Linked DNA regions of Homo sapiens: regions 2, 3, 4, 5, 6 and 7 are each linked to region 1. Evidence: promoter capture Hi-C in human tissues and cell types (Jung and others, 2019). All regions are on one chromosome and are shown on one strand. Each heading gives the region's core, a stretch centred on a gene start or on the middle of the fragment in contact. The rest is flanking DNA. Distances are from core to core; before and after follow the strand shown. Region 1 holds the start of FAT1 (FAT atypical cadherin 1). Region 2 overlaps LINC02492 (long intergenic non-protein coding RNA 2492). Region 3 overlaps LOC339975 (a long non-coding RNA gene). Region 4 overlaps LOC339975 (a long non-coding RNA gene). Region 5 holds the start of LINC02514 (long intergenic non-protein coding RNA 2514). Region 6 overlaps LOC339975 (a long non-coding RNA gene). Region 7 has its middle 76 kb from the start of LINC02374.

Evidence for each region. The method cuts DNA at HindIII sites, captures the fragments that hold promoters and counts their contacts. A contact is called where the count stands out against the background at its distance.
Region 2: a fragment that was not itself captured here is called in contact with the fragment with the promoter of FAT1 in region 1 in 1 of the 25 tissues and cell types used here (IMR-90 fibroblasts).
Region 3: a contact is called between a fragment that was not itself captured here and the fragment with the promoter of FAT1 in region 1, in 1 of the 25 tissues and cell types used here (dorsolateral prefrontal cortex).
Region 4: a contact is called between a fragment that was not itself captured here and the fragment with the promoter of FAT1 in region 1, in 1 of the 25 tissues and cell types used here (dorsolateral prefrontal cortex).
Region 5: a contact is called between a fragment that was not itself captured here and the fragment with the promoter of FAT1 in region 1, in 1 of the 25 tissues and cell types used here (lymphoblastoid cells).
Region 6: a fragment that was not itself captured here is called in contact with the fragment with the promoter of FAT1 in region 1 in 1 of the 25 tissues and cell types used here (lymphoblastoid cells).
Region 7: a contact is called between a fragment that was not itself captured here and the fragment with the promoter of FAT1 in region 1, in 1 of the 25 tissues and cell types used here (lymphoblastoid cells).

What each region holds. Positions count from the first base shown.
Region 1 is chr4:186,721,481-186,725,551 of GRCh38, reverse strand. It overlaps FAT1 (FAT atypical cadherin 1), which reads left to right and starts at 1,696. Exons shown (of 27, transcript NM_005245.4): 1 at 1,696-1,888. RefSeq lists enhancers at 254-1,253, 1,754-2,255. The HindIII fragment of the contact is 8,530 bases long and covers 1-4,071 here.
Region 2 is chr4:187,544,520-187,548,590 of GRCh38, reverse strand. All of the region lies in intron 2 of LINC02492 (long intergenic non-protein coding RNA 2492), which reads left to right. Among named protein-coding and RNA genes, the nearest start is that of LINC02492, 130 kb to the left of the region's middle. The HindIII fragment of the contact is 4,057 bases long and covers 1-3,770 here.
Region 3 is chr4:187,468,312-187,472,382 of GRCh38, reverse strand. The region is part of intron 1 of LOC339975 (a long non-coding RNA gene); the gene reads left to right. Among named protein-coding and RNA genes, the nearest start is that of LINC02515, 61 kb to the right of the region's middle. The HindIII fragment of the contact is 4,826 bases long and covers 1-4,071 here.
Region 4 is chr4:187,405,524-187,409,594 of GRCh38, reverse strand. All of the region lies in intron 1 of LOC339975 (a long non-coding RNA gene), which reads left to right. It overlaps LINC02515 (long intergenic non-protein coding RNA 2515), which reads right to left and starts at 745. Exons shown (of 3, transcript NR_183821.1): 1 at 696-745. The HindIII fragment of the contact is 3,307 bases long and covers 556-3,862 here.
Region 5 is chr4:187,369,624-187,373,694 of GRCh38, reverse strand. It overlaps LINC02514 (long intergenic non-protein coding RNA 2514), which reads right to left and starts at 3,047. Exons shown (of 3, transcript NR_149103.1): 1 at 2,920-3,047; 2 at 2,269-2,400; 3 at 1,774-2,011. The region is part of intron 1 of LOC339975 (a long non-coding RNA gene); the gene reads left to right. The HindIII fragment of the contact is 4,395 bases long and covers 199-4,071 here.
Region 6 is chr4:187,339,532-187,343,602 of GRCh38, reverse strand. The region is part of intron 1 of LOC339975 (a long non-coding RNA gene); the gene reads left to right. Among named protein-coding and RNA genes, the nearest start is that of LINC02514, 29 kb to the left of the region's middle. The HindIII fragment of the contact is 3,694 bases long and covers 1-3,531 here.
Region 7 is chr4:187,276,083-187,280,153 of GRCh38, reverse strand. No RefSeq gene overlaps it. Among named protein-coding and RNA genes, the nearest start is that of LINC02374, 76 kb to the right of the region's middle. The HindIII fragment of the contact is 8,426 bases long and covers 1-4,071 here.

The DNA.
Region 1 (4,071 bases), core at 447-2,946:
TTCTTCCAGGCAGATAGATTTCTCAGGGAGCCTGGAAAATCGGGATTCCCAGACAGATGTAAAACATCTAGTAAGCCCTAGGAAGCGTTATTACTTATTAATTAATGGTAATCTTCTCCAGGAATTCTCTTGTGCCATTTAAAAAAAATCCCGTGATTTTACGTCAGGGAATGGTATCTTTGTACTTTTTTTACTGTTCTTCTTTTCCCCTTTTAGCATTACTCCCGCTTCCTCGCTCCCAGGAAACGGCTGGAGTTCCGGTGTGTTTGGGTTTTGCTGAGATTTACAATTCGGCAAGCGGCACAAGCCGGTTGGGCTTGGAGATCAGGTCACCCACTTTCGAGGTGTTCCATGTATGAAATTGACCTGTAAGCACTTGGAGCAATTATGGCCGGGACAAACACGTCTTTGGATGATGGAGTTTGCATTTGCTGGATGTGTGAATCTATGTGTATTCCAACTGGTGGGCAGGGAATATAGGGCTACGAATCGGCACACTCATCTTGCAGGCATTATTTTTCCTTCCCAGCCACAACCTGCTAGACACCTTTATTATTATTATTTTTTCCGGTCACCTCTAAGATGGCTTATAAGGTGACTGCGTTAACTTTGAACCCAGGAAATTCTCTTTCACACTTGACTGCCCTGCCGTTCCCCTCCCCGCCAAGCTCCCCTCACCAGTCCCAGGGAAATCGGATCTCTTTGTCTTCCCAGTGTTAAAATGCCTGAGTCCCACAAACTTTCCGAGATCAAGTCCGCCCTCTTGTCCGGGCTGCGTCCCAGCGCCTCCGGCCCTCCGGGCTTCGGCCGAGTCCGCCCTGCGCCGAGCCTGCGGCTGGAGCCCTGCCCGCACCGGGGATGGGCTCCGCGCCCGGGACGCTCAGGCTGGGCGCCCGGCGCGGGGAGTTCTCGGAGCGGGCTTCTCGGCGCTGGGGCTTCCCCTCTGCCTAGGAACTTGCAGTTGTCGGCCTGGGGTCACGCTTTGGGGCCCCTGGGGCCGACTCCCGGGCTAGGAAGCCCGCGGGACGCCGCGACTGCCTTTTGTCCCACAGGCCTGGGCGTCCGGGGTGTCAGCGGGGGAGGCCAGGCGCCCGCGGCGGGGAGGGCCTGGGGTCTAACTCGGCAGAAAAAGGTCGCGGGGGAAGCGTTTCCATTTTCTGGGGATTGAAGGAGGAAGTAGATTCCGACCTAGCTGCATTCCTTTGGAGACCTGAAGGACGACTTCAGCCCACCAAACCTTCGCGGACCCAGAGCCGCGCCATTCAAATGCAGATTCAGGGGCTCCCAGAAGGCTATGGAAAAGCTAAAGGGATGCCTCTGGGAAGCTTTCTCATTAGGCCCCAGCCTTTTTTTTTTTTTTTTTTTTTTAGCTAAGCTAACGTTTCCCTTTCTTGGCAGGGAGCTTTCCCCAATTCCTTGCACAGCGCCTGTGGCTGGCCGTAACTAACCTCGGCATCACAAGCCTCGCCCTGCCCCTCGGAGCCGCGCTAGACCCCGCTGGGCGCCTTCTCGTCTCCCAGCACGGACCTGGTGTTCGCAGGGACTGGGGCTCTTTGGGTCCGGGCGGGACTGCGTGGCCGAGCCCGCGGTCCCAGAGCCGGCAGCCGGGGAAAGTGGGCTCGAGTTTCCGCGCCCGAGAAATGAGCGCCGGCGCCGGCGGGCGGGGCCGGGGCGGAGGGATCTCCTGCGCTCGGGGAGCGTGAGGCGCCGGCGCCGAGCTGGGCGGCCGGGCGCGGGGAGAGGGCGCGGGAGCGGCTCGTGCGGCAGGTACCATGCGGACGCGCGAGCCCGGCGAGGGCCCCGGCAGGCCCGGTCCCTGCTCGGGGGCGCGCTGAGACGGCGGGTGAGCTCCACGAGAGCGCCGTCGCCACTTCGGGCCAACTTTGCGGTTAGTTCGCTGGGGCGCGGGCCGGCGGGCGGGGGCGAGAGCGTGCAGCGCGCTGCGGTGCGGACTCTGTGGGTGTCCGCCCGGTCCCCGGCTCGGGCTCCGGCGCTGCCGAAAACGGATGAGCGCGCGACTTCCCGGAGGGTGGAGTGACTCGGTCCTTCCCAGTTGGGAAATTCAGCACTGGCTAGGGGGGTCCCGGCGGCGGAGCGGGAAAAGGAGGCGACCGCGCGGGACCGATCCGGGGCCATTGCTGGGGTCCGATCCTTTCTGACACGCCGCCTTCCCTCCGGGAGCTCGCCGGGCTGCGCCGGCCTCGCGGTCTCCTGGGGCATCCCGCCGTCTGCGAAAGACCCGCTCGCTGAGCGGTGCACGCGGGAGGCCTGCGCGGGGCTGCCGGGTCCCTGGGTCTCTGGGTGTTTGCGCCCTGCAGGAGCGCTGCCCGGAGGTGCAGATGCAACCGGTGGACTGCGGAGTGAAGGGCTGCGAGGCTGCATTTCGGGGCTGAACATCTGCACAATGTGCGGTTTGTCAGTGTTTTCTGTCTTCTCTGGAGGAGGAACTTCTAAGATCTTTTTAAAAGAAAGAGTTTTTGGTCCTTCATTGCCTTTAAAAAAAAATGCTTTCTTTTAGAGAGCCAGCTTTCTGCTGTGTGTTAGATTTTTTTGTTCCCGCTGATGTGAATTGCAAGGCTTTGGAAACAAGGACGCAATTGTATGAGTTAGGAAAGTAAACTCATAAATATTTTCTATGCAGTTAAGTTTTTTTTTTTGTCTGAACTGTGGTTTCATTAAGTGGCTTTTGTTAAGCAATTCCCGGGTGCCTGATAGAGGCGATTTTTTAAAAGTGGATATTAACAGTGATTATTAGTATGAGAAAAGATTGAAAAGAAAATGACCTTCAGATATTCATTTCCTTTTCAAAAGCAGATTCTTAATGCTTCGTATATTCAGATACAGGTTTCGATAGTTTAAGAAGGTATCTGTGTGTGAGAACTAGGTAATGGTGATGTTTTTCACACTATTCTTAATGAGTTTGGTTATGCTGTCCAACACATCCAGTTGTTACAGGGACGTTTGAAAAGGTGTTTCTCCAGTTAATAGTTAATTGTGATATTTGTCTTTGTCTTTTTGTCTTAGGAAGACAGCTCTGATTCCACAGTTAGAATTATTCCTTTGTATTTAAGATGTAAAAATACTTAAAGCACTATGTAATTTTTTAAAACAACAATTGGTATAAGCCTTGAGTGATGCTAAACATGGCATTTAACAAGCTCAAGGTAAGGTTTGATTTGAATGAAGTTTGCATTTGTATAACCATTTTTTGAAAAATGAACACCTTAAATGAGCCAAATTCTTTGGCACTCTGGAAAGAAGTGTGGTTGTTAGAGGACTTTATAAAATCATTTCGGGCCACCTGTATATTCATTTGTCTCTTTTGAAGTATCCCCGTTGGGTTCTCATCATGTTAGTAGATCATTTAAATCCATGGTCCGGACAGGTGCCAACAGAAAAATGTTTAAAAATTATGGCCGGGCGTAGTGCCTCACGCCTGTAAACCCAGCCCTATGGGAGGTCGAGGCGGGCGGATCACCGGAGGTCGGGGGTCCGAGACCAACCTGACCAACATGGAGAAACCCCGTCTCTACTAAAAATACAAAATTAGCGGAGTGTGGTGGTGCATGCCTGTAATCCCAGCTACTTGGGAGGCTGAGGCAGGAGAATCGCTTCAACCCGGGAGGCGGAGGTTGTGGTAAGCCGAGATCGTGCCATTGCAATTCAGCCTGGGGAAAAAAAAGAAAAGAAAAAGAAGAGAAGAAAAATCTTTAAAAATTATGCACAAACTAATTCTGTTTTCATTCCCCTGATCATCCTCTACCTTTCCATTGCCTTTAGACTTTGCTTTGAGGTCCCTTTGAAGCAGTCGTTTCTTTGAATGTTAGAGGTGGATAGGATCTTAGAGATTATGTTTTAACACTTTACCCGCTTGCTTTCCACCCAAGTTTGGCTGATTTTACGTAGAATCAATCAGCCAAATCAAATTAGTACATTATTATTGCATTAGATTCTGTCTCAGTGGCATAATTTGTAGCCTAAAGGACCTGATTTAATAGCAGGGAGCCGTAAGGCTGGATGTGCTGTTTAATCTTTATGAGTGGGATTTGCGCTAGATAATTGTTCTTTTGA
Region 2 (4,071 bases), core at 493-2,992, 820 kb before region 1:
TTTTCCTTTTTAAATCATGTATCTTAAAATTACTGACTTTGGAACAGTAGGGGAACGTGAATTAGAAAGTTTTATAAAAATTTCAAAAAATGTTAGCATTAAAGTCATGGTTTTATGTTTGTAATTCATTCAAAAAGTAGTGTTTTCTGCTTATACCCACAGAAATCATCTCTGAATAATAAATAATCTTTACAGTTTTCAAAGAACTTTCAGCTGCATTTCACTGAGGTTCAAAGAGGTGACTTGTTCAAAGTTACCTAAAAAATAGGATGTGGAGCCCACATTTGCATCTGATTTTAGACCTCATGTTCTAAAAAAATGGTGTACAAACTCCATAACCTTGCAAAACCTCTCCATTCTTGTGATTTCCTCTCAAATTTTTATAAACTGAGGTTATGCCGCATACACAGCAAGATTTTCCTCAGATGTTATAGATGACATGTTCTGTCTTTACAACTAAATTGGCACTTCATTACAGGTCAAGATCTCATGTGCAGGCTGTTACTTTAGTATCTCTCTTCTGTACCCCAAAGCCTTTAACGTCTTCAAGCTTATCATCGGCTCAATAACATTTGGTGACTGAATATAAAGAAATGAATCATCATTCATGTAACTTACAGCATTTCAAAGTTCAAGCTAATTTGAAGTTTCTTTGATTTAGTACAGAGGACTTAACATGTGTGGGTACATGTTTCTAAATCATCAAGGATCTTGTAACAATAAATGGTACTGAGTTTTCAGAATATGTGAGAGTTTGATCTAAGGAGGGTTTTCAGAATTTTGTTGAATCGTTATCTCCCCTGAGGCTTAAGTTAATGCTTTCTGTTCCCATTCACTAAAGTTCCTAAATCTGCTTCTTAAAAAATAAATTTATGTTTTTCTGCTCTGAATGTTGAAAGGCTTCCAATAGGTCCTGAAAGCACAGTATTTCATTTCCTGGAGTTTCAATGAACTTTTTTTTTCTTAATAGCTCCGTGAAACTGGAGAATAATTACTTTTTCAGTTAATGTTAAACTGATGGCATTTTTAAACGAGAAGCTGGCAGCAAATATTATGTCAAGCTATAGTGCATTAAAGAGTGGTTTGGCCACTTTGCAACTCACCTCTGAAATATCAGACTTCCTTTGTCGAGCCAAGTACAGCATTAAGAAATCACACCGTAGAGGTGGAGGGGATGCTGGGATTTTTTGCTCCAGGCATAGAGTCTGTTTCTCTGCACACTACTAAGTGAGCCTGACTTTCCAATCCTTTTTACAACCCGGCAGTTCTTTTGCAAAGATCCGAAGTTCCATTTACTCACAGGCTAACAAATATGTAGATATAAATAGGTTAACATTAATAAGTCATTTAAATGCTTTACTGTTTCTCTGGTTTGTTTAAAAATTGGGGCAAATTCAGGATCTTTCCCCATACCTTTTGCAATGCCTTAAGAAGACAGGAAGGTAGTATTTTCCAGCAGTAACTCAGGCATCAGTGCGTGCTATACTGATAACTGAAATAAACTGTAGCAGAACCAACCCTTTCACTTAAACTTAACAGATATTTCAATCTATCGGGACACTTCGGAAAATATACTTTCTTGAGAGCAAAGCTCTGTATTCCATGCTTTGAAAGATATTAAGTAAAGATGAAACAATTGAGGTTACAACAACTACATAAATAACTATATTTAATATATAGTAGAAAGTATTAAATTTCATAATAGATGTACAGATAAAAGGCTCTGTATGTGGAAAAGAAAAAGATGGCTTCCTCTTCGAAGGGTTTAGGAGATGGTGAGGGAGGGATGAGGACAGAGTCAGAAGGCCTGGTTCAGAATTTGTTTTCACATGGCTAGAGCAGAGGGTTTCTCCCAGAGACAGACACACAGGAGACAAACTGTGCAGAGAGAGAGAGAGAGAGATCAATTCAAAGCCATAAATCTATAGTTAGTGATCAAGCTTGGGGTCACAGAGTTGGGAGATCAGAGCTGGGAAGATCAAAATGAGACCTGAAAGGATTAGAATTAGAATAATTTGGGAACAAGTAAAGACAGGTACACAACCTCAAACACTAAAAACAGTTCTTGGGACACTGGATTTGAGGTACTTGGTTTGGGCCGTCTTCTTAATGGGGCAGGAGGATCATGTGGAGATGTTATGTGAGGAATGAAAGGTTATGCCCCATTCTGCTCGTACTGATGGCTGTGTGTGTGTGTGTGTGTGTGTGTGTATCTGTGTGAAGAAGGACTGTGTCATTTGTGCTACAGTTTATGTTTGGAATAAAGTTTTATGTGATCCAGAAAACGGTTCACAAATGAATATATCATTCCGAATCTAAAAATCACGTTAAGTCCTATATTACCTATACTGTTAAGGTTCAGGCTATCAACAGGAAAACACAATTTCTTAATCTCATCTTTAACTGGATAAATGCGATTTTAGTGGACATAGATTCTCTAAATATATGAAAGATACAAAGGAGGCAACTGGATAATTGGTGTACTTAGAACTTGGTTCTGTTATCTTCCTTGTAAGAACTTTATTGAGGTCTGTTTTGCATATCATAAGAGTTCAGCCATTGCAGGTATACAATTCAATGACTGTTTTGTAACTCTGTGGCATGATAGGAATATCACCATAAATCGATCTCGGAGCATTTTTTCATGCCCCATCTAAAATCCCTACTGCCTATTTACAGTTAATTCTTTTTCACACTTTAATCCCCAGGCAACTACTAATCTAGTATTGATCATTAAAAATGGAATCCACAGTCTGTGGTCTTTTGTGACTGGCTTCTTTCACTTAGGGCAATGTTTTTGAGGTTCATCCATGATGTAGCATGTGCCAGCAGTTCATTCCTTTTTATTATCCAATGCTATTTCATCATATGAATAGACCATATTTTTATCCATTCGCCAACTGAGGGGTGGTCAAGTTGTTTTCAGGTCCTGGCTTTTATGAATAATGCTGTTATAAACAATGATGTGCAAGTCTTTATGTAGATAGATGTTTCTTTTCTCTTGGACAGATACTTAGGAGTGGAATTGCTTGGTGATATGGTAGGTTTATGCACAACATTTTGCGGAAATGCCAAATTATTTTCCAAAGGGGCTGAAATGGTTTTATTATCTTGATGATGATGAAGACAATATCTGCTACTACTATTTCTATGTGATGTGGGCCAAGATTAAGTTAAAAATTACATATATAAATATATATATGTATATAATTTTCCATTCAATTCTCACAAGAATTCCTTGTAGTAATCACCAATATTATTATTCCCATATATACATCTTGGGTACTTTCACTATGTTTCTGATTTCAGTTGCTCCCCAGATTGGTAGTCTGCTATTTAACAAATATACCTAATACATTTAGGGAAAAGATACCATGTGATCTAAAATAAAACAGGGAAGTATCAATATTTGTTGGTATTAGGAAGCTGGGCAATTTTTGAACAATTCTAAAGTCATGGATGGATGAACTGAATTAGATGAGTGAAGAGGCACATGTCTGCCTTGGGTGGCCAATTTATTCAAGAAATGTACTGCATTTTAGAAGATGGGGAATCAGCCTGACACCCTGGAAGTGTCTATGGTTGCTACTGTTCTAGGCTGATTGTAACTCAATCTTGGCACACATCAGCTCAGTAGAATGACTAGATGAATTCTTTGAGGTCAGAGACTGGTCCTGTTTATTGTTGTATCACTGGTGACTAGATCAAAATAAGGACACAATGTATATTTGGTTGATTATATATGGCATCAAATGAATATGCATTTTCCAGGCGTGGTCTCAGTGGTGCCAGAGTTACATCATGGTGAGTCCAAATCAAACAGAAAGTAGCAACAACCCCGAGTATCCAGACTACAGGACTGATGCTTTACAACTGTTACAACTCTAAATTCATTCCAGCAAGGTGGCGTCACCTTTGTGCTTTAAATTAGCCATTATGAATTTTTGTCCCAAGGCTAAACTAAATCTCTGCAGGTACTTGTATTGCATGCAGTCACATATTTCTTCTCGTAGAAAAACCTAAGTTAAAGATAACTCAGCAATGTGGAGCTTAGAGTGCCACATGCCTCTG
Region 3 (4,071 bases), core at 894-3,393, 750 kb before region 1:
CTTTATATAGAGAGAAACAAAATCTATAGATAAGATAAAATAGATTAAAACACTGCTAGAATATTAAAATGCAGACTTTTAAAAGTTTTGTTTGCCTGTTTCCTTATTTATTTTACTTTTAAATTTTTTTAATTTGACAGATAACATTGTAGCTATTTATTGTTTACCATATATTTTGAACGGTTAAATCTAGCTAATTAACAACTGCGTTATCTCACATAGTTATTTTGTGGCGAGAGCATTTAACCCTACTCTCTTTGCATTTTTCAAGAATACAATAAATTGTCATTAATTATCATAACCTTGCTATACACTAGGTCTTTTGAGTTCATTCTTCCTAACCGTAATGATGTATCCTTTGACCAACCTCTCCCATGTCCCCATTTTCTTATTTTTAAGCATAACTACCTAAAATATATCCCTACTAAAATGTTTTTGCCATGATCTAAATTTTAGGCAGTTGAAAAAGCTAAATCTCAGCACTAGCCAAAAGCCCCACTTGATACTTGCATTTATGTCAGATGAGCTGCCACGACAAAGAGTTACCTTTGACTTCCTCCCAGTCATATAGACTTGGTGCCCTCCCTCAGCTTGAATGTCACTTCTGGCACCTCTGGGTCCTGTTCCCCAGGTGAAAAATGGACAAACACTGGGCAAATAGAAATCTGAAATAAAGACAGTTGCACACTCTCTGTTCCAATCCATTCTGTGTTTCCAATCTGTAGCTCAAATCCCATTTATTTTCACCCTCACTTGAAAGTCTACCACCTCAATCTAGGTCTTTATGGTCTTTCTCCAAGATAATAGACACAGCAATCCTTTATCTCATCTGCCTAGTGAGATGACTACATTATTTTTTATTTCAAATGCTGCCGAGGAACAGAACTTCGTAAAACAGTTCCTTTCTGCTTCAAGTATCCATAGTGGCTTCTCATTACTCAATGAATTAACACCAGGTCTCTCCCATTTGTGATACCAATGCATAAGTGACAGGAACAGTTATAGGCAAGAGATAGAAAGAGTTGGGTTGGGATTTATGACTGATTAGTTCACAACTGAAGGTGCAACAAAGGCATTCAGGTAGGTTTTTGTTTGTTTGTTTTGCTTATTTTGGCCAGCTCTGGATCCAGGAGTTGGCTAAGTCCGGATACAGTATTAGCAACACTGAGTGACACTGAGTCGGATACATGGCATGGATACTGAGGAGTGTATTGTACTTTCTGCTCACAGGAACCTGGGTCCAGTACAGCAAGTTGCTCTGATTCAACTTGTGTGCACTGTGTGTGCAAGTGGTAGAGACACTTATGGTGAAGCAGCCTCCTGGTCCTAGCTGTGTATTTGTGTTAGAGTAAGAATTGCAGGAAACAGGTTTACGAAGTCTTCGGGCAACCTTATTTTTATCAGTCACTAGCATATGCTTTCTCACCTAACTGGGAGAGGCTCCTTCCTCGGCCCCAACTTGTCAAGCTTACTGTCTGAGTCTAATTTGGTATTCTAAGGGAATCCCTGAGGTGGGTAATTTATAAAGAAGGGTTTATTTGGCCTATGGTTCTGCAGGCTGGACAAGAAGCACAGTGCTGACAATGCCTGGCTTCTGGTGAGGCCTCAGGGAACGTCCACCATGGTGCCAGGAGAAGGTGAGGGGGAGCTGGTACGTAGAGATCACATGGCGAGAGGACATGGCAGGTGGGTGGACACAGGTGCCAGCCTCTTTTGAACAACCAGTTCTTGTGGGAACTCTGAGGTGAGAACTCACCCCCAATGGGGGCCATTAATCTATTCATGCGGGATCTGCCCTCATGACCCGGACTCCTCTCATCAGGCCCCACCTCCAACACTGGGGTGAGATTTCAATGCAGGGGTTGGAGAGACAAACATCCACATCATAGCACCTGCGTTCTCATCTGTGTTTCTGTTGGTGCATCTCCCTTTGTTTGAGATGTTCCTTCATATTTTATCCACCTAACCATATCTTTTCATTCTACCTTGTATTTAATTTTCAAATGTTAGTGAGATGGCATTGAGTTCCAGTTCCATTCATCTGTGAAGCCATCTTTAAATTCCTCATGTCATTCTGACTTATCTCTTCTTGGAACCTTGGCACCAACAGTGAGTCATGGCCACACTGAAGGTGCTTAGTGTCATACACGGAGAGCGGCGGGCATGTCTTTAACTGGTTTTGTGTCTCACATGCAGCCTGGCACAGTGCTGAGAACAATACATAACCTCTGCAAGACTGTCTTAACCAAAGTTCAATAGTTCCAGAAAATTATTAAGTTTTTGAAAATATGAAACTGTTTTTTAAAAGAATAGGGAGAAATATAACAATCATGAAACCACCAAATTTAAGATCTGAAATTGGTAGCCTCTCATCTGACCTCCACATTTAATGGGAGAGGAAAATTATATGCAGAATAATTAGGTAATTTGCACAAAGCTAAGCAGTAAACTAGAGACAGACACAGGCTGTCCAGATTCTAGCCCCAGTCTAACACTCCTTGCTAAACTGGACTAGAGTATATAGTGAAGCTTCATGGAATGCAAAATTGAATGAAAGTATTTTAACTATGCTTGTCATATGAGTTTATATTCAAGCATGCCCTCTTATAAGCTGCAAAACGAATTGTCTAAATATAACCGTGGCTAACATTGCTGGTTAGCTATCCAATATACCTTCTCCTTTCTTCTTTTGTTCTCTCTCTCTTTCTTTCTCTCTCTCTCTCTGTGTGTGTCTCTCTTTACACAACACACACACATGCACACACACAGAAAGAGAGAGGTAGAGACAGAGACAGATAACAGATACAGAGAAAGGAATAGCTATGTTTCCAGTTAAGACCTAAAACCTCCTACCCCTCTTTGTGTTAAATGGCAATTTGGTATATTTCTTCTCACTAATAGAATATAATTAAAAGTTAGCTAGAAAGTGGTTATTTTTCCAAATTAAAAAGAAAAAACCTCCTATGTGAAGAAGATATTTGGCTTTTTATCCTTTTTCCTTCTTTGTGGTTGGAATGCAGACATGGCATTGGATGTGCAGCAGCTGTCTTGGAATCATGAGGATGAAAGTCACGACCAAGGGTTAGGACTGGAGAGATGAGGAGCCTAGGTCCTTGAAAACATTCTTGAAGAGCTCTGTCCTGAGCCAACTCCATATTTGTAGGGGGAGAACTACAAATCTCTTACTCATGTAATCCAATTGTTCTTAAGTTTTGTGTTACTTGCCTTTGACTAGTCACTTTTGCAGTGACTTTGGTGCAACCGAACTTTTCAATACATAAAAGCAAAACTATTTTTAGATGGTTTAAATATGCTAGGCACCTTTCTATACCCTTTAAATATATTATCTCATTTTATCATTATATCTGTATAAGGAATTCATTGACATTCTTATTTATAAAGATAAAAAAGAAAATTTAAAGAGGTTAATTATCTTGCTTATGGCCACATAGTTTTAAGTAGCAGATGTTCTTGTCATGCCAGTGGCCACTTTCTGTTCATCTCACACTATGCATGTGAAGCGGAGCTCTGTGAGTCCATGCACTATTTCATAGTTTAAGATATTTGACTGACAACCTTGTTTCTTCTCCAGAAATGAAATACCAAAGCTACAGTAAAAACACATAACCTGTACAATCTGCATATAATTCAGACAAAGAATATAGTTAAAGTGGTACAATTCTGCAACTGTGAATTTAGTAGTTTCAAAGAGAATCAATTATAGAACTGATTCTATTTTTCACTCGGGCTCTTGAACTTGGCCTTAAGTTGTCATGGTAATTATTCCAGGTATAGCTGCCTTAAACTTAAAAATAAGCAACATTTTGCAGCTTTTCAACACTTTAGTACAAGCTCCATTTAAGTAGAATGGTCTTCTAGAATTGTTTTTCTCCTGCAAACACATCATTTAAGTTCAGGCTCCAAATGATATAAACCTTAAGTCTTTCAGATAATTCATGGTTTCTTATCTTTTATTCTCTAGAGATTATTTTCTTCATTGTTACCCCAGAAAACAAAGCTAAGCATAAAAGAAAACCTGCATGTTCCTGGATGTAAGTGTTAAATATGTAG
Region 4 (4,071 bases), core at 960-3,459, 680 kb before region 1:
AGAAAACTGTTTAATATTTTTATTGTCTTATAATCCAGGATCTCCACTGATTAATCATTTAATGTTTATTACATTACATATATTCATTCATTTTTTTCATTAATTTATATAAGTGTTACTTCCAAAGGTTTCTTTTTGTAAAACAGATTTTTGTAGAGTGTTAGTGTACTACTACAGCAAGAATAGCCACATAGGAACCAATGCATATTTATTAAAACTGTATTCAACTCTACCTCTCAATTCCATGATTTGACTTGAGGAAATAACCAGTATCTTTAACACATACGTAAATCTGGATTTCAAGACACCAGACATAATTTTAGTTCTAAATGATTAAGATTTTGAAGCATTCTTTATACTTCTGTCTATAAAAAACTAAAATCATATTTAAGTAAAATTTTAATAGGCACAATATGTAGATGATCCTATAATTTGTATAGTTATAAAAATTATTTTGTAAGTTTTAATAAAATAAATGCAGCCAGTTATATTTAATAACTTAGATATTTAAAGTAGAGTAAAAATATTTTACCCAACATTTTAACACAAATAAATTTTAAATTACATGACTTCTACACATTTATAGTGCAGTAAAAAAAAGAGCAATCCTTATTATTTATTCATTCATTCCAAAAATCGCTATTGACCACTAAATCTAGCTTATCGGATATACATGCAAAGATAAGAAAACTTACTCGAGATGGGCTGGCAAGGTGGCCAAATAGGAACCGCTTCAGTCTGCAGTTCCCAGCGAGATCAATGCAGAAGGTGGGTGATTTCTGCATTTCCAACTGAGGTACCTGGCTCATCTCACTGAGACTGGTTAGACAGTGCGTGCAGCACATGGAGGGCAAGCCAAAGCAGGGTGGGGTGTTGCCTCATCCAGGAAGCGCAAGGGGTCAGAGAAGTCCCTCCGCCAGCCAAGGGAAGCCATGAGGGACTGTGCCCTGAGGGACGGTGCATTCGGCCCAGATACTACGCTTTTCCCACGGTCTTTGCAACCGGCAGACCAGGATATTCCCTGGGGTGCCTACACCACCAGGGCCCTGGGTTTCAAGCACAAAACTGGGCAGCCGTTTGGGCAGACACCCAGCTGGCTGCAGGAGTTTTTCTTCATACCCCAGTGGCACCTGGAACACCAGTGAGACAGAACCGTTCGCTCCCCTAAAAAGGTAGCTGAAGCCAGGGAGCCAAGTGGTCTAGCTCAGCGGATCCCACCCCCATGGAGGCCAGCAAGCCAAAATCCACTGGCTTGAAATTCTCGCTGCCAACACAGCAGTCTGAAGTCGATCTGGGACGCTCGAGCTTGGTGGGGGGCGGGGTGTCCACCATTACTGAGGCTTGAGTAGTTGGTTTTCCCTTCACAGTGAAATCAAAGCCACCAGGAAGTTCAGACTGGGCAGAGCCCACCGCAGCTCAGCAAAGCTGCTGTAGCCAGACTGCCTCTCTAGATTCCTTCTCTCTGGGCGGGGCATCTCTGAAAGAAAAGCAGCAGCACGATTCAGGGGCTTATAGATAAAACTCCCATCTCCCTGAGATACAGCACCTGGGGGAAGGGACGGCTGTGGGCGCAGCTTCACCAAACTTAAATGTTCCTGCCTGCTGCCTCTGAAGAGAGCAGTGGATCTCCCAGCACAGCTCTTGAGCTCTGCTAAGGGACTCACTGCCTCCTCAAGTGGGTCCCTGACCCCCGTGCCTCCTAACTGGGAGACACCCCCCAGCAGGGATCGACAGACACCTTATATAGTAGAGCTCCAGCTGGCATCTGGCAGGTGCCCCTCTGGGACGAAGCTTCCAGAGGAAGGAACAGGCAGCGATCTTTGCTATTCTGCAGCCGCCAGTGGTGACACCCAGGCAAACAGGGTCTGGAGTGGACCTCCAGCACATTCCAGCTGACCTGCAGCAGATGGCCTGACTGTTAGAAGGAAAACTAACAAACAGAAAGGAATAGCATCAACATCAACGAAAAGGGCGTCCACACAGAAACCCCAACTGTATGTCACCAACATCAAAGACCAAAGGCAGATAAATCCGTGAAGATAAGGAAAAACCAGAGCAAAAAGGCTGAAAATTCCAAAAACCAGAACACCTCTTCTCCTCCAAAAGATCATAGCTCCTCGCCAGCAAGGCCACAAAACTGAATGGAGAATGACTTTGACAAATTGACAGATGTAGGCTTCAGAAGATGCATGATAACAAACTCCTCTGAGCTAAAGGAGCGTGTTCTAACCCAAGGCAAGGAAGCTAAGAACATGGAAAAAGTTTAGACAAATTGCTAACTAGAAAAACCAGTTTAGAGAAGAACATAAATGACCTGATGGAGCTGAGAAACACAGCACAAGAGCTTTGTGAAGCATACACAAGTATCAATAGCTGAATTGATCAAGCAGAAGAAAGGATATCAGAGATTGAAGATCAACTTAATGAAATAATGTGTGAAGGCAACATTAGAGAAAAAAGAATGACAAGAAATGAACAAAGCCTCCGAGAAATATGGGACTATGTGAAAAGACCAAACCTATGTTTGTACCTGAAAGTGATGGGGAGAATGGAACCAAGTTGGAAAATACTCTTCAGGGTATTATCCAGGAGAACATCCCCAACCTAGCAAGGCAGGCCAACATTCAAATTCAGGACATACAGAGAACACCACAAAGATACTCCTTGAGAAGAGCAACCCCAAGACACATAATTGTCAGATTCACCAAGGTTGAAATGAAGGAAAAAATGTTAAGGGCAGCCAGAGAGAAAGGTCGGGTTACCCACAAAGGGAAGCCCATCAGACTTACAGCAGAGCTCACTGCAGAAACCCTACAAGCCAGAAGAGAGTGGGGGCCAATATTCAACATTATTAAAGAAAAGAATTTTCAACCCAGAATTTCATATCCAACCAAACTAAGCTTCATACGTGAAGGAGAAATGGAATCCTTTACAGACAGCAAATGCTGAAATATTTTGTCACCACCAGGCCTGCCTTACAAGAGCTCCTGAAAGAAGCACTAAATATGGAAAGGAAAAACCAGTACCAGCCATGGCAAAAACATACCAAATTGTATAGACCATTGACACTATGAAGAAACTCCACAAACTAATGGGCAAAATAACCAGCTAGCATCATAATGACAGGATCAAATTCACACATAACAATATTAACCTTAAATATAAATGGGCTAAATGCCCCAACTAAAAGACACAGGCTGGCAAATTGGATAAAGAGTCAAGACCCATTGGTGTAGACCCATTGGTGTGCTGTATTCAGGAGACCCATCTCACATGCAAGGACAAACATAAGCTCAAAATAAAGGGATGGAGAAATATTTACCAAGCAAATGGAAAGCAAAAAAAGAGGAGGAGTTGCAATCCTAGTCTCTGATAAAACAGACTTTAAACCAACAAAGATCAAAAAAGACAAGGAAGGGCATTACATAATGGTAAAGGGATCAATGCAACAAGAAGGGCTAATTATCCTAAATATATATGCACCCAATACAGGAGCACCCAGATTCATAAAGCAAGTTCTTAGAGACCTACGAAGAGACTTAGACTCCCACACAATAATAGTGGGAGATTTTCAACACCCCACTGTCAATGTTAGACAGATAAATGAGACAGAAAATTAACAAGGATACTCAGGACTTGAACTCACCTCTGGACCAAGCGGAACTAATAGACATCTACAGAACTGTCCACCCCAAATCAACAGAATATACATTCTTCTCAGCTACACATCACACTTATTCTAAAATTGGCCACACGATTGGAAGTAAAACACTCCTAAGCAAATGCAAACAATCGTAAATCACAACAAACAATCTCTCAGACACAGTGCAATCAAATTGGAACTCAGGATTAAGAAACCCACTCAAAACCACACAAGTACATGGATACTGAACAAACTGCTCCTGAAAGACTGCTGGGTAAATAACTTAAATTTCAACCTTAGTAAAATTAAGGTAGAAATAAATACCTTCTTTGAAATCAATGAGAATAAAGACACAATGTACCAGAATCTCTGGGACACAGCTAAAGCAGCGTTTAGAGGGAAATGTATAGCACTAAATGCCCACAGGA
Region 5 (4,071 bases), core at 1,147-3,646, 650 kb before region 1:
TCTGCTATTGTAATTTCCCAAGTAGGCCCATGTGACTCTGCAAACCCTAGGCCTGAGCCAGATTTGTTTGAAATGTCAGCCAAACTACCAGCACCTTACATCATGATATGGTCTGACTCTGTGTTCCCATCCAAATCTCATATCAAATTGTAATTCCCAGTGTTGCAGGAGGGGCCCAGTGGGAGGTGATCGAATCATGGGGGTGGACCTCCCCCTTGCTGTTCTTGTGATAGAATTTTCCTTATATCTGCTTGTTTAAAAGTGTGTTTAAAGGCACCTTCCCCACACTTCCTGCCAGCCATATGAAGATGGGCTTGCTTCCCTTTCAACTTCTGCCATGATTGTAAGTTTCCTGAGGCCTACCCAGAAACAGAAGCCTGTACAGCCTGCAGAACTATGAGCTGATTAAACCTCTTTTCTTTATAAATTACCCAGTCTCCAGTATGTCTTTATAGCAATGTTGAGAACAGACTAACTCCATGAGCATCTCAAATGTCATCATCACAGGTAATATCTATTGAGCTCTCACTTCAGTGATTTCTAATAATGACTCCATGAGACAGGTGCTGTTATTGTCCTGTTTTTACAGGTGATATTTGCATAAAGTTGGTGACTTATTCTGGAGTCTCCAGCCAGAACTGAAATGTTAGGCAGTCTGACTTTAGAGACCTTGCTATTCTTCACTCTCTTTTAGGCTCCCTCCAAGGCTCAGTTTCAGCCCAGGATGCAACACATACTATGCAAAGATATAATAACTGGTTTAAAGAAAGCTAGATTCATATTGGCCCAGATCCTAGCCCCAGCACAATGTAGCAATATGGCAAATTGGCCCAGGAGTCTAGTTTGGAAATGCCTCTCAAACTAGGTAGGATTATCTGGCTTACGCTGAACGATTTTATGCGGGGCTACTTTGAAATGTTCCACTAAAGCATTATTAAATGACGCCACACAGTCATATACTCTGGGCACCAAACAGCAATAGATACAGCTACCTGCAAACATCCCCAAAGGCTTCAGGTTTACTTTTCCTGCCTCCTACCCACTAGCCAAATAAGTAATTCACTGCTTTTCACAACAGGCTCCTGCTCTTCTTGGCTCTCTACTGAGACTCATACCTATGCCTGTGTAAATGTTAGCCATCCTTCATGGCTCCAAAGCTAAGGAAGCTTTCTCAGTTTCCCTAGGTGAAGTGACAGTACCTTCTATATATTAATTGTGACATTTGTCATTCATCATCCTCCTCATCTTAAGATCCATTTTATTCCTCGCTTATTTTTCTTAGCCATAAGAGCATGTTTTTTGTTTGTTTGTTTTACCAAATTTGGTCTTTTGTACCAAACAATGTCTTGCTCATAGTGTGAATTCAGTAAACATTTTTAAAATAAATAAATAAATAAGTAAAGAGTAAATGGATTGTGTTAGGGACCCATGACACAGGGCAATATAGGTTTAGCATTCCTAATCCAAAAATCTGAAATGTGAAGTGCTCCAAGATATGAAATTTTTGAGCACCAACATGATAACACAAGTGGACAATTCCACACCTGATTTCACATGACGGATCACAGTCAACATACAGTCAAAACTTTGTTTTATGCACAATATTATTTAAAATATTTTATAAAATTACTTTGAGGCTATATGTATAGGATACATATGAAACAGTAATGAATTTTGCGTTTAGACTTGGGTCCCATCCCTAAGAGTTCTCATTATGTCTATGCAAATATTCCAAAATCTGAAAAAATTCAAAACACTCCCGGTTCCAAGCATTTTGGTTAAGAGACACTTAATGCGTATCAGCAAATTTTCAGAGAGAGGTTAATGGGAGGAAATATTCATAAAGCAATTGAATAATTCGGCATTGCCTCTGTAGAGCAATGCAGTTCCCTGGAAAACACGAGGCTTATCTTCATGCAGCTTTGCCAGATGGATGTGAAACTCCTCCAGCTGATCCTTGTGGAAACCCATCCATCTCATGTCACTTAAGTGGGGATATATGGAAACGTGACTAATAAGACAAAAGGAAAACAAAGTTGCATTCAGTATTTGGGATAAAATAGCTTTCTTCCTGTATAGATGTGTTTTTGTCATTGCAAAGGAATCTAACACTGACAAATAAGATTCTTCCACCTGCCTCACTTTCTATTCCAATAGATAGTTGGCAGACTCTCTTTCCTATGAAAGGCATGGGTAAATGCTACTTAGGTAGCAGGTGTTGGAATAATTTACCTAACTATGATTTAAGGAGTATCACAATATTCCTACCCATTCCTTGGGTTCCTTCATGTGGGAGATGCAGACTGGGCTATGTTTGGGACATTGGTCTCTGGGTTTCATTCATCACACTCCAGTATTTCAATCTCAGCTTCCTTTTCTGTACACTTCAACATTATGTAGCTGTAGATGAAAGATCTTTTGACATCATGAAAAGGTATGTATAGAAGATAATATAGACATGCATATGCACAATAGGGCTTGTCTCCTTCTCACCCCACCCACAACATGTGCTTCCTGATGTTCAGGTAACTGAAAGGTCAAACACTGTGTCACTGACTGTGTATTAGCTTTTTATAGCAAGAGGGGAAAAGTGATGAGTGTGAATGTCATCAAGGTGGTGTTGGGTAAGCTCACTGCAACAATCCTGCTGTACTGAAAGAATTCTGCTTTAGGGAGGCCTCTGGGTTCACTTCTGCTCAGATGGTGCTGAACTCCCACCAACTTTACTTCTGCTTTTCCAGGCTGACCATTCCCCTCCAGCTGACACATTATTTCAATGAACAGTGTTGACACTATTTCCACACCCCAGTTCCCGTGGACCTGGGAGATACCCTGTGTCTTCCCCTGATGAACTACTTTAAATAACCTCACCCTCACAGGCAAGAACACCAGCTTCTGCATACTGTGGAGTTCACCCACCCTAGATTGTCCAATTTCCTCCTGCTCTTTTGCCTCTTCAGGTAATGGAATCACACTCTTATTCTGAATTTCAACTCTTTTCCTCCCTTCCTTCATACATTTCTCTAGAGCTGAAGTGAATCATTATTCTTTGTTTGCAAAGAAGCTTCCTTTTCCTTTATGGAGAGGTCTCAGAATCTCCTGCCTTTCATAAACTTTCCTGATTAAATAAAAGAGCGATTTCTCTTTTCTTCCTTGTCCTAGAAACCGATTTCCATATTATAAATAAGCACTCAGGTTAGAAATATATATGCAAAACTTCTATTCTAATTTATGCCTTTTCTATGACATCCATATTTCTATATTGACAGATAAGAAATATTAGAAGATTTCAAATATACAATTTTTTTGCATAGCATTGTTAATGGTATTTCTGCTGTATTATTTATGTTGGTTCACTCAGTCTCCCTTGCATCTTTTCTCTCTTTGGGAAGATTGGAAAGTTCAGTTACACTTCCTAGATTCTTTTGATGCTAGAATTCTGTATTGATGAACTCATGAGATATTTGGAATGCAGGAGTGAGCAGAGTCCGTCTCTGTGAAAGTTTTGGAGGGTGCCGTTTATAAGAAAGTCCATGGAAATATGATGTTCCTCCAGCAGCCAGCCAGCGTCTGTTACATAGGCTCCTGAATATTGACAGGTGGTGGTGGCAGAGATGCCAGTTTTAACCCCTTATTTCCAGCATAGTTCCAGTGTGGTGGCCTCAGAGAGAATAGCTCTATTACTCCAGTCTGTGTTGTTTGAAGTGTAATGCGATTCCAAGAGGCTAATCTCAGACCTACTCCTTAGACCTTCTACAGATCCTGAAAATATTTTACTTTGTGTGTTACATGTCTTTCCACTTAAAATGACTGGAATTGTTTGTGATTCTTGTAGAAAACCCTGACTGGGCCAGGTGCGGTGGCTCACGCCTGTAATCCCAGCACTTTGGGAGGCCAAGGCGGGCGGATCACAAGGTCAGGAGATCGAGACCATCCTGGCCAACATGGTGAAACCCCATCTCTACTAAAACTACAAAAATTAGCTGGGCGTGGTGGCGCGCACCTGTAGTCCCAGCTACTCGGGAGGCTGAGGCAGGAGAATCACTTAATCCTGGGAGGCATAGATTGCAG
Region 6 (4,071 bases), core at 435-2,934, 620 kb before region 1:
CATTGTTATTATATATTTTTGGAAATTATTCCAGAGATTACCATATGCACCCTTAAATTATTATAGTTTATGCAGTTAATATTGTGCTGTAGCATGTAATATATGAAAATTTTGCATCTGTATACATGCATTTATCTGGTATTTGTATTCTTGTTACTATATATGATATATTCAGGCACACCTCATTTTATTGTGCTTTGCTTTATTGAGCTTCACAGACACTGCATTTTTTACAAATTGAAGGTTTGTGGCAACCCTGCATCAAGCAACTCATTTGGTTACATTTTTCCAACATTTTGTGCCCACTTCATGTCTCTGTGTCCTACTTTAATAATTCTCATAGCATTTCAAACTTTTAAATTATCATCTGTTATGGGGATCTTTGATCAGTGATCTTTGGTGTTACTATTGTAACTGTTTTGGGTCACCACAAACTGCATCCATATAAGACAGCAAATGGTCAATAAATGATGTGTGTGTGTTCTGACTGCTCTGATGACAGTCTGTTCCCCCATCTCTCTCTCTCTCTCTTCCTCTCTTCAGGCCTCCCTATTCCCTGAAACAGAACAATATTGAAATCAGGCCAATTGATAACCCCACAATGGCCTCTAAGTGTTCACGTGAGAAGAAGAGTTGCATGTCTCTCATTTTAAATCAAAAGCTAGACATGATTAAGCTTAATGAGGAGGGCACGTCAAAAGCCAAAATAGGATGAAAACTGGCCCTCTTGCACCAAGCAGTTAGTGAAGTTGTGAATGCAAAGGAAAAGTTCCTGAGGGAAAAGTTCAACTCCAAGGAACACAGAAATGATGAGAAAGAGACACAGCTTCATTAATGTTAGAAGTTTTAGTGGTCCGGACAGAAGATCAAACCAGGCACAACATTCCTTTAATCCAAAGCCTAATCCATAGTAAAGTCCTAACTGTCTTCGATTCTATGAAGGCTGAGAGAGGTGAGGAAGCTGCAGAAGAAAAGTCTGAAGCTAGCAGAGGTCAGTTCATGAGATAAGGAAATAAGCCATCTCCATAACATAACAGTGCAAGGTAAAGCAGCAAGTGCTAGTGGAGAAGCTGTAGCAAGTTATCCAGAAGATCTTGTAATGATCATTGATGAAGGTGGCCACACTAAACAACAAATTCACAGTGTAGACAAAACAACCTCCTATTGAAAGAAGATGCCATCTAGGACTTTCTTAGTGAAGAGGAGAAACGAATGCCTGGCTTCAAAGCTTCAAGGAACAGGCTAACTCTCTTGGTAGGGGCAAATGTAGTGGAAGCCAGTGTTCACTTACCATTCTGAAAATCCTAGGGCCCTTTAGAATCATGCTACAGCTACTCTTCCTGTGCTTTATAAATGGAACAGCATAGTCTGGATGACAGCACATCTCTTTACAGCCTGGTTTACTGAATATTTTCAGCCCACTGTTGAGACCTACTGCTCAGGAAAAAAAATTTCTTTCAAAATATTTCTGCTCACAGACAAAGCACCTAGTAACTTGAGTTCTTTTTTCCAGTATATTTTATTTATCTTTTTAATTTTAGATTTAATGAATACATGTACATATTCATTATATAGGTATATTGTGTAATGCTGGGGATTGGGCATCTGGTGTAACTGTCACTCAAATACTGAACATTGTATTCAATAGGTAATCTTTCAAACCTCACCCCTCTACCCCTCTATTCCATCCCTCCTTTTGGAGTTCCGACTGTCTGTTATTTCCATTGCTATATCCATGTGTACCCATTGTTTAGCTCCCACTTATAAGTAAGAACATGCAATATTTGATTTTTTGCTTCTCAGTCAGTTCTCAGAAGGGCTCCATCCTTGTTGCTGCAAAAGACATATTTCATTTTTTACTGCTATGTAGTATTCCATGGTGTGTGTGTGTGTGTGTGTGTGTGTGTGTGTGTATATATATATATAAAACTTATCTAGTCATCTGTTGATGGGACACTTAGGTTGGTTCTGTGACTTGGCTATTGTGAATAGTGCTTCAATAAACAAACAAGTATAGCTGTCTTTTTATATAAATATTTTTTTTTCATTTGGGTAGATACCCACTGGTGGGACTGCTGGGTTGAATGGAAGCTCTATTTTTAGTTCCTTGAGATATTTCCATGGTGTTTTCCACGGAGATTGAACCAATCTACATTCTCACTAAGAGTGTACAAGTTTTCCCTTTGTCTGCATCTGGTTAATAGTAGCCATTCTGACTGGTGTAAAGTGATACCTCAGTGTGGTTTTAATTTGCATTTCCCTGATGATTAGTGATGTTGAGCATTTTTTCATGTGTTTGTTAGCTGCTTGTATATCTTCTTTTGAGAAATGTCTGTTTATGTCCTTTGCCCACCTTTTAATGGGATTGTTTTTTCTGGTTGAGTTGTTTGAGTTTCCTGTAGATTCTGGATGTTAGTCTTTTGTTGAAGACATAATTTGCAATTATTTTCTCCTATACTGTATATTAGTTTACTCTGTTGATTATTTTGTTGCTGTACAGAAGCTTTTTAGTTTAATTAATTCTGATCTATCTTTTTTATTTTTGTTATATTTGCTTTGGTGTCTTTGTCATAAATTTTTTGTTTAGACCCACATCTAGAGGAGTTTTTCCTAGGTTTTCTTCTAGGAATTTTATAGTTTTAAGTTTTACATTTATGTCTTTAATTTATCTTGAGTTAATTATTGTATATGGTGAGAGATAGTGGTCCAGTTTTATTTATCTGCATGTGGTTAGCCAATTTTCCCAGTACCATTTACTGTCTTTTTTTATTGTTTATTTTTTCAACTCTGTCAAAGACCACTTAATTGTAGGTATGTGGCTTTATTTCTGCATTTTCTATTCCATTCCATTGCTCTATGTATCTATTTTATGCAAAAATCATGCTGTTTTAGTTACTATAGGCTAGTATTATAATTTGATGTCAGACAGTGTGATGCCACTAGATTTGTTCTTTTTGTTTAGGACTGTTTTGGTTATTATGACTCTTTTTTGTTCCATATGAACTTTAGGATCTGTTTCTAAATTCTGTGAAAAATGACATTGGTAATTTGATACGAATTGAATTGGATTTATATATTGCTTTGGGCCATCTGGGCACTTTAATGATCTGAGAGTTCTGATAGCGATGTACAAGGAGATTAATGTGTTTTCTTGCCTGCTAATACAATATCCATTCTGTAGCCCATGGATCAAGGAGTAATTTGACTTTCAAGTCTTATTATTTGAGAACTACATTTCATAAGGCTATAGCTGCCATAGATAGTGATTCCGCTGATGGATCTGGGAAAAGTAAATTGAAAACCTTCTGGAAAGGATTCACCATTCTAAATGCCACTAAGAGCATTCATGATTCATGGGAGGAGGTCAATTTATCAACATTAATAGCAGTTTGGAAGAAGTTGATTCCTAAACTCATGGATGATATTGAAGTTCAAGACTAAAGTGGAGAAAGTATCTGCAGATGTGGTGGGAATAGCAAGGGAACTAGAATTAGAAGTCGATGTGACTGAATTGCTACAATGTGATGATAAAACTTGAAGTTGTTTGTTATGCGCAAGCCAAGAAAGTGGTTTCCTGAGATGGAAATGACTCCTGGTGATGATGCTGTGAATATTGTTGAAATGACAGCAAAGGGTTTAGAATATTACATAAACTTAATTGACACAGCAGTAGCAGTGTATGAGATTATTGATGCCAATTTTGAAAGAAGTTCTACTCTAGGTTAAATGCTGTTAAACAGCATCAAATGCTACAAAGAAATCTTTCATGAAAGGAAGAATTGCTGTGGCAAACTTCATTGTTGTCTTGTTTCTTAAAATTGCCACTGCCACCGCAACCTTCAGCAATCGCCACCCTGATCAGTCAGCAGCCATCGACATTGAGACAAGACCCTTCACAAGCAAAGTGATTACAACTCTCTGAAGGCTCAGATGATTATTAGCATTTTTTAGCAATTAAGTATTTTTAAATTAATACATATTGATTGGGTTTTTTAGACATAATGCTCTCACACACATAATAGACAGCAGTATAGTGTAAAGATAACTTTTATATGCACCAGGAAACCAAAA
Region 7 (4,071 bases), core at 506-3,005, 550 kb before region 1:
CCACCCTCCACCAGCATATACATAGCACACGTATCTGCACACATGCGTGCAAACGTTAAGTGGACATGCACAACGCACTCAGCTCCTCCACAGGGTGACATCCAGGTGAATGAAGAGGACATCTAATGCCCTACGAGCAAAGGGGGAAAAGGAGCTTAAGTCAAGGAGTTTTACCTGCATCTTCACTCGTCTTTGCTCCAAAGTACCTGGTGAATTGTTCCTTGTTCTATTTACTCCGTGAAGCACTCAGTGAAGCATTGTGGCCTGTCTTTGGCATCTGGTGCTGTAGATGCCTCCGAGTCTCCGCCCTATCCTCAGGGTGCCTCCTCCAGGGCTCTGTACCCAGCAGTGGGTCTCTCCTGAGGATGCTTCTGTGCCAGACCTGTTGCCCTCAGCTCAGGGACCTTCTGCTTCTGGGTTCTTTCCATGTCTCTGACTTCAGCCTTCCCTTCAAAGGATCTAACATCTTCCCACACTCCCTCCGTTTCATCCCAGAAGAGTGGACTGAGACATAAACATGTCTGTCCACTTTTCTTTTTCCAATTTTCTTTTCCTTTCTTGTTTCTCTTCCTCATCACCACCAGAGTGTAAGGGGCAGATTTTCCATTTTTTTTTCTTTCCAGTGTAGAAGGAATTCTCCCTATATCATATCCTCTTTTTTCTCAAACTGTATTTGTCCTGTCTCCTTCCAGATGCTCTGAGGGTGAACGGGCTTCAGAGAGAGGCTGGATAACCAATAAAAGAGGCCTCACAAAAATAATTTCCTATGAGATAGCAAAATTGGTGGCTCCACCATGGAGTCCAAAACAAGAGAACACTTGGTGAAACTGAATTATCCTTTGAACCGCAGGGGACATCAGCAATCACAGCAGAATCGAAAGCAGCCAATGCCAGTCATTCCCTGTAGGTCTGTATCAGGATTCTCGCCACTGCGAGGCGTCTCCCCTGTGGGGATGGCTGGACACAGAGGCAGTCTACTCTCGCAGGCATGGTGTATTCAAGCACAAACATTCCTTCTTCCAAATAGCATGGTGGTCATGTCATGAAAAATCATTTCTTTGATACCACCTTGAATGCTCAAGAATAGCACTGAAAATATCACCACAGTATTAATGAATAAGAACAACATGCTAATTAAATGTTAGGAATACCAAAGAAATTAGCTGGGTTATGTCTAATTACATTATCAACTGAGAATTATTTGCACAGGAAAAATATGAAAAACATGGTTCCAATTCAGAAAATCTTCTACCTAGTAAACTTAAGTAATGCGATTTTTTAAAAAATCAAAATAACCCTTGGTTTAAGATTTGGCTACATGGCAGACTGAGAGGAGGTGGTTCTAATTCTAGAATCAATGCTAATTTCCTCAGTTCAATTCCATCCAGCTGGCACCATCAGCATAATCTGTATGCTTTCTAGCTGGGCCAGCCTCTCCATTCAGCTCAATGCTTACTGAGCCTTGTGTAGATATCAAGAACCTAGCAGTCCCTGCCCACGGGGTGCTTATAATCTAACAGGGGAAAAAGAAATGCACAATTAATGAATTCAAAATATGAAAAAGTACAAGCCGCAAGCACAGTATAAAGTGTTAGCCAAAAGACCACACCGATTATCCATGACGGATTTTTCTTTTCCAATTCTCTCATAAAATCTTTATGTGATATGTGATTACCAAATCATATTTAGAATTTGAGAAGTTGAGGCTATTGCATTAACAGATTATTTACTGACATGCAGTCTTTTAGAATAGTAGCTGATTACAAAGAAGGAGGTAGGGCCACTAACTGGTATGACAAAGGACTGATCATTACACATTAAAAATATCATCCTCAAATCTGCATATATTGTCACAAAGGAGAAACTATAAGAGCAGTTTTTTTCATAAAGACCCGTTATATAATACCTATTCTTCATCAAATAACCCTCATAATTTATTTTAACCAGTTTTTATCTGTATTGTTTCAGCAAGAGTATTGTACAACCCCAGAGCATATATCCACATGATATTTTTGTGGCAATTATTATAATCTGATCAGATTCACCTATGTAGATCTAGGGGATAAGACATAACTAGCATTCTGCAGCAGGAAAAAATGAAGGAAAGAAAGGCTCAATGTCATTGCACTTGAATACAGAACCAAGCTAAATAACAAGGTCCCATTTTTCTCTGATGTTCTTTCTTATTCTTGAAGATTCAAGATGCAAATAGCATCACTTTTGTAGTGTTCTAGCAACACATTTCTCCCTGTCCATGTGCAGAAATGATTATTCTCACTTTTTTGTTACCTCTGGGCCTGAATATACTTCACTTCTAAATCTGTACTGCAGAATTTTTAGTAGATAATTTTTTAAGACTTTCTCCAAATGGAGTATAAATAACTTCAGGGCAGCAGTTCACCAATGCTTAATATCCTGTGTGGTATCTTTTCATATTGCATATTTGCCTTGTAAAGAGGAAATGAAGTAGCTTATATTATATATACACATACAGCATATATGTGTGTATCTATGCATATACACAGCAAGAAACATAAATAAAAGAAATATGGCTAAAAAAGGAGAGAAGGAAAATAAATTTAAGGGTAAATTAACACATGAATTTGAAGGCTATAGAGGGAAGACCACTTCAGGAAGAAAGAAAAGAATGTGTCCAAAGATGCTTGAGACAGAAGTTCAAGTTCCTGCAAGTAGCACAGATTTCAATGTGACATTAATATGAGGAGAAGGAGGCTGGGTGAGGAAGGGAAGGACAGCAGAGGAGAGATGAACCCCACAACTTTGGTTCACCTTATAGGTGACAAAGCTTTACCTGTTTACACATTTTCTAACTTACTTTGCTCTAGAAAATAATTCGGGCAACTTCCTTTCCTGTCCTAAAGGATTCTGCAGCTATTTCAGCAGGTCTGTTGGAGGAGCTGCCAGCAGTACCAGCACATGCAGATTTCACAGTGGAGAAAGTGAGTCTAGAAACCAAAAGGCAACTAAAGGTACCAGATGTGACTTTACCAGAACCAATTTTGAAAACTACATGGTAAGACACAAAACGCAAAAAGTTAAAAATAGTCAACTGTTAATTAGGGAATCCTGGGCAGACATGAGCGTTGGAAACTGAAAGTGGAGTCACATACGTTTTTCTTACTGTGGTAAAACTAGGCCAAAGTGTACAGGAGAAGCTGCACACAGCAACTGGTTGTGAGTCAGAGGAAAGGCTCCATCATCCAGGAAGATGTTTCCAGCTCCAATTGATCTAATTCTGCAAATACTGATAGATTTGTTTAAGGAAACACAGCAATGCAGGAAAGACGCTAGCAAGAACTTGCCAGTCAACAAAGCATGTCGATTCCTACGCCAAGTTATCCTGCCAATGCTCTTTAAAAATAAGGCCCAGAATTATTATTAAGTGATAATTAAAAGAAAAACATATGCTCAATTTTGGCTTGGTTTTCTGGGATATGGTAAATTTTGAAAGCCTTGCCCGTCATAAATGTGTGAGTATTTTATGATATATAGTGGACAGACCCAGCCTAACGTATATGATTCAATTGACTAAAAATGTCAGCATATGCATGATCAATTTCCAATTTCTCTTGCCATAAATTTAATCATTATTCATCATGAATTATATAATAAAAACATTAAAACCTTTTAAAATTTGATTATTATAAATTTGTGTTCTGAAAGAGAACTAAGTTGAGCTATGTCCCAACAAAAAAAGGAAGAGAAGGAATAAATCTAGCCTTAACAATGGTCTCTCTGAAAGTTTAAACTTGATTGGAATAATTGTAGAGAACTTTTTAAAATATAAAACTAGTGCCAATCTGCATAACAAACAAACTTTCTCATAAACAAACATGGCTTGTATATTTATGATGAACCCAGAGAATGATGTGAAAGTCATCAAATCAGGCCATCCTCTCTTGAGATATATGACTCCTACAATACTTATCACCAACCTATGCACCATTTTGCCATATGTTGCTTTCCTACAGGTGCTTAATACCATGATACCTCTGTTCCTTAAGTTATTTGAACTCCATTTCAAGGCCAAGTTTACTCTAGCCATGAGGC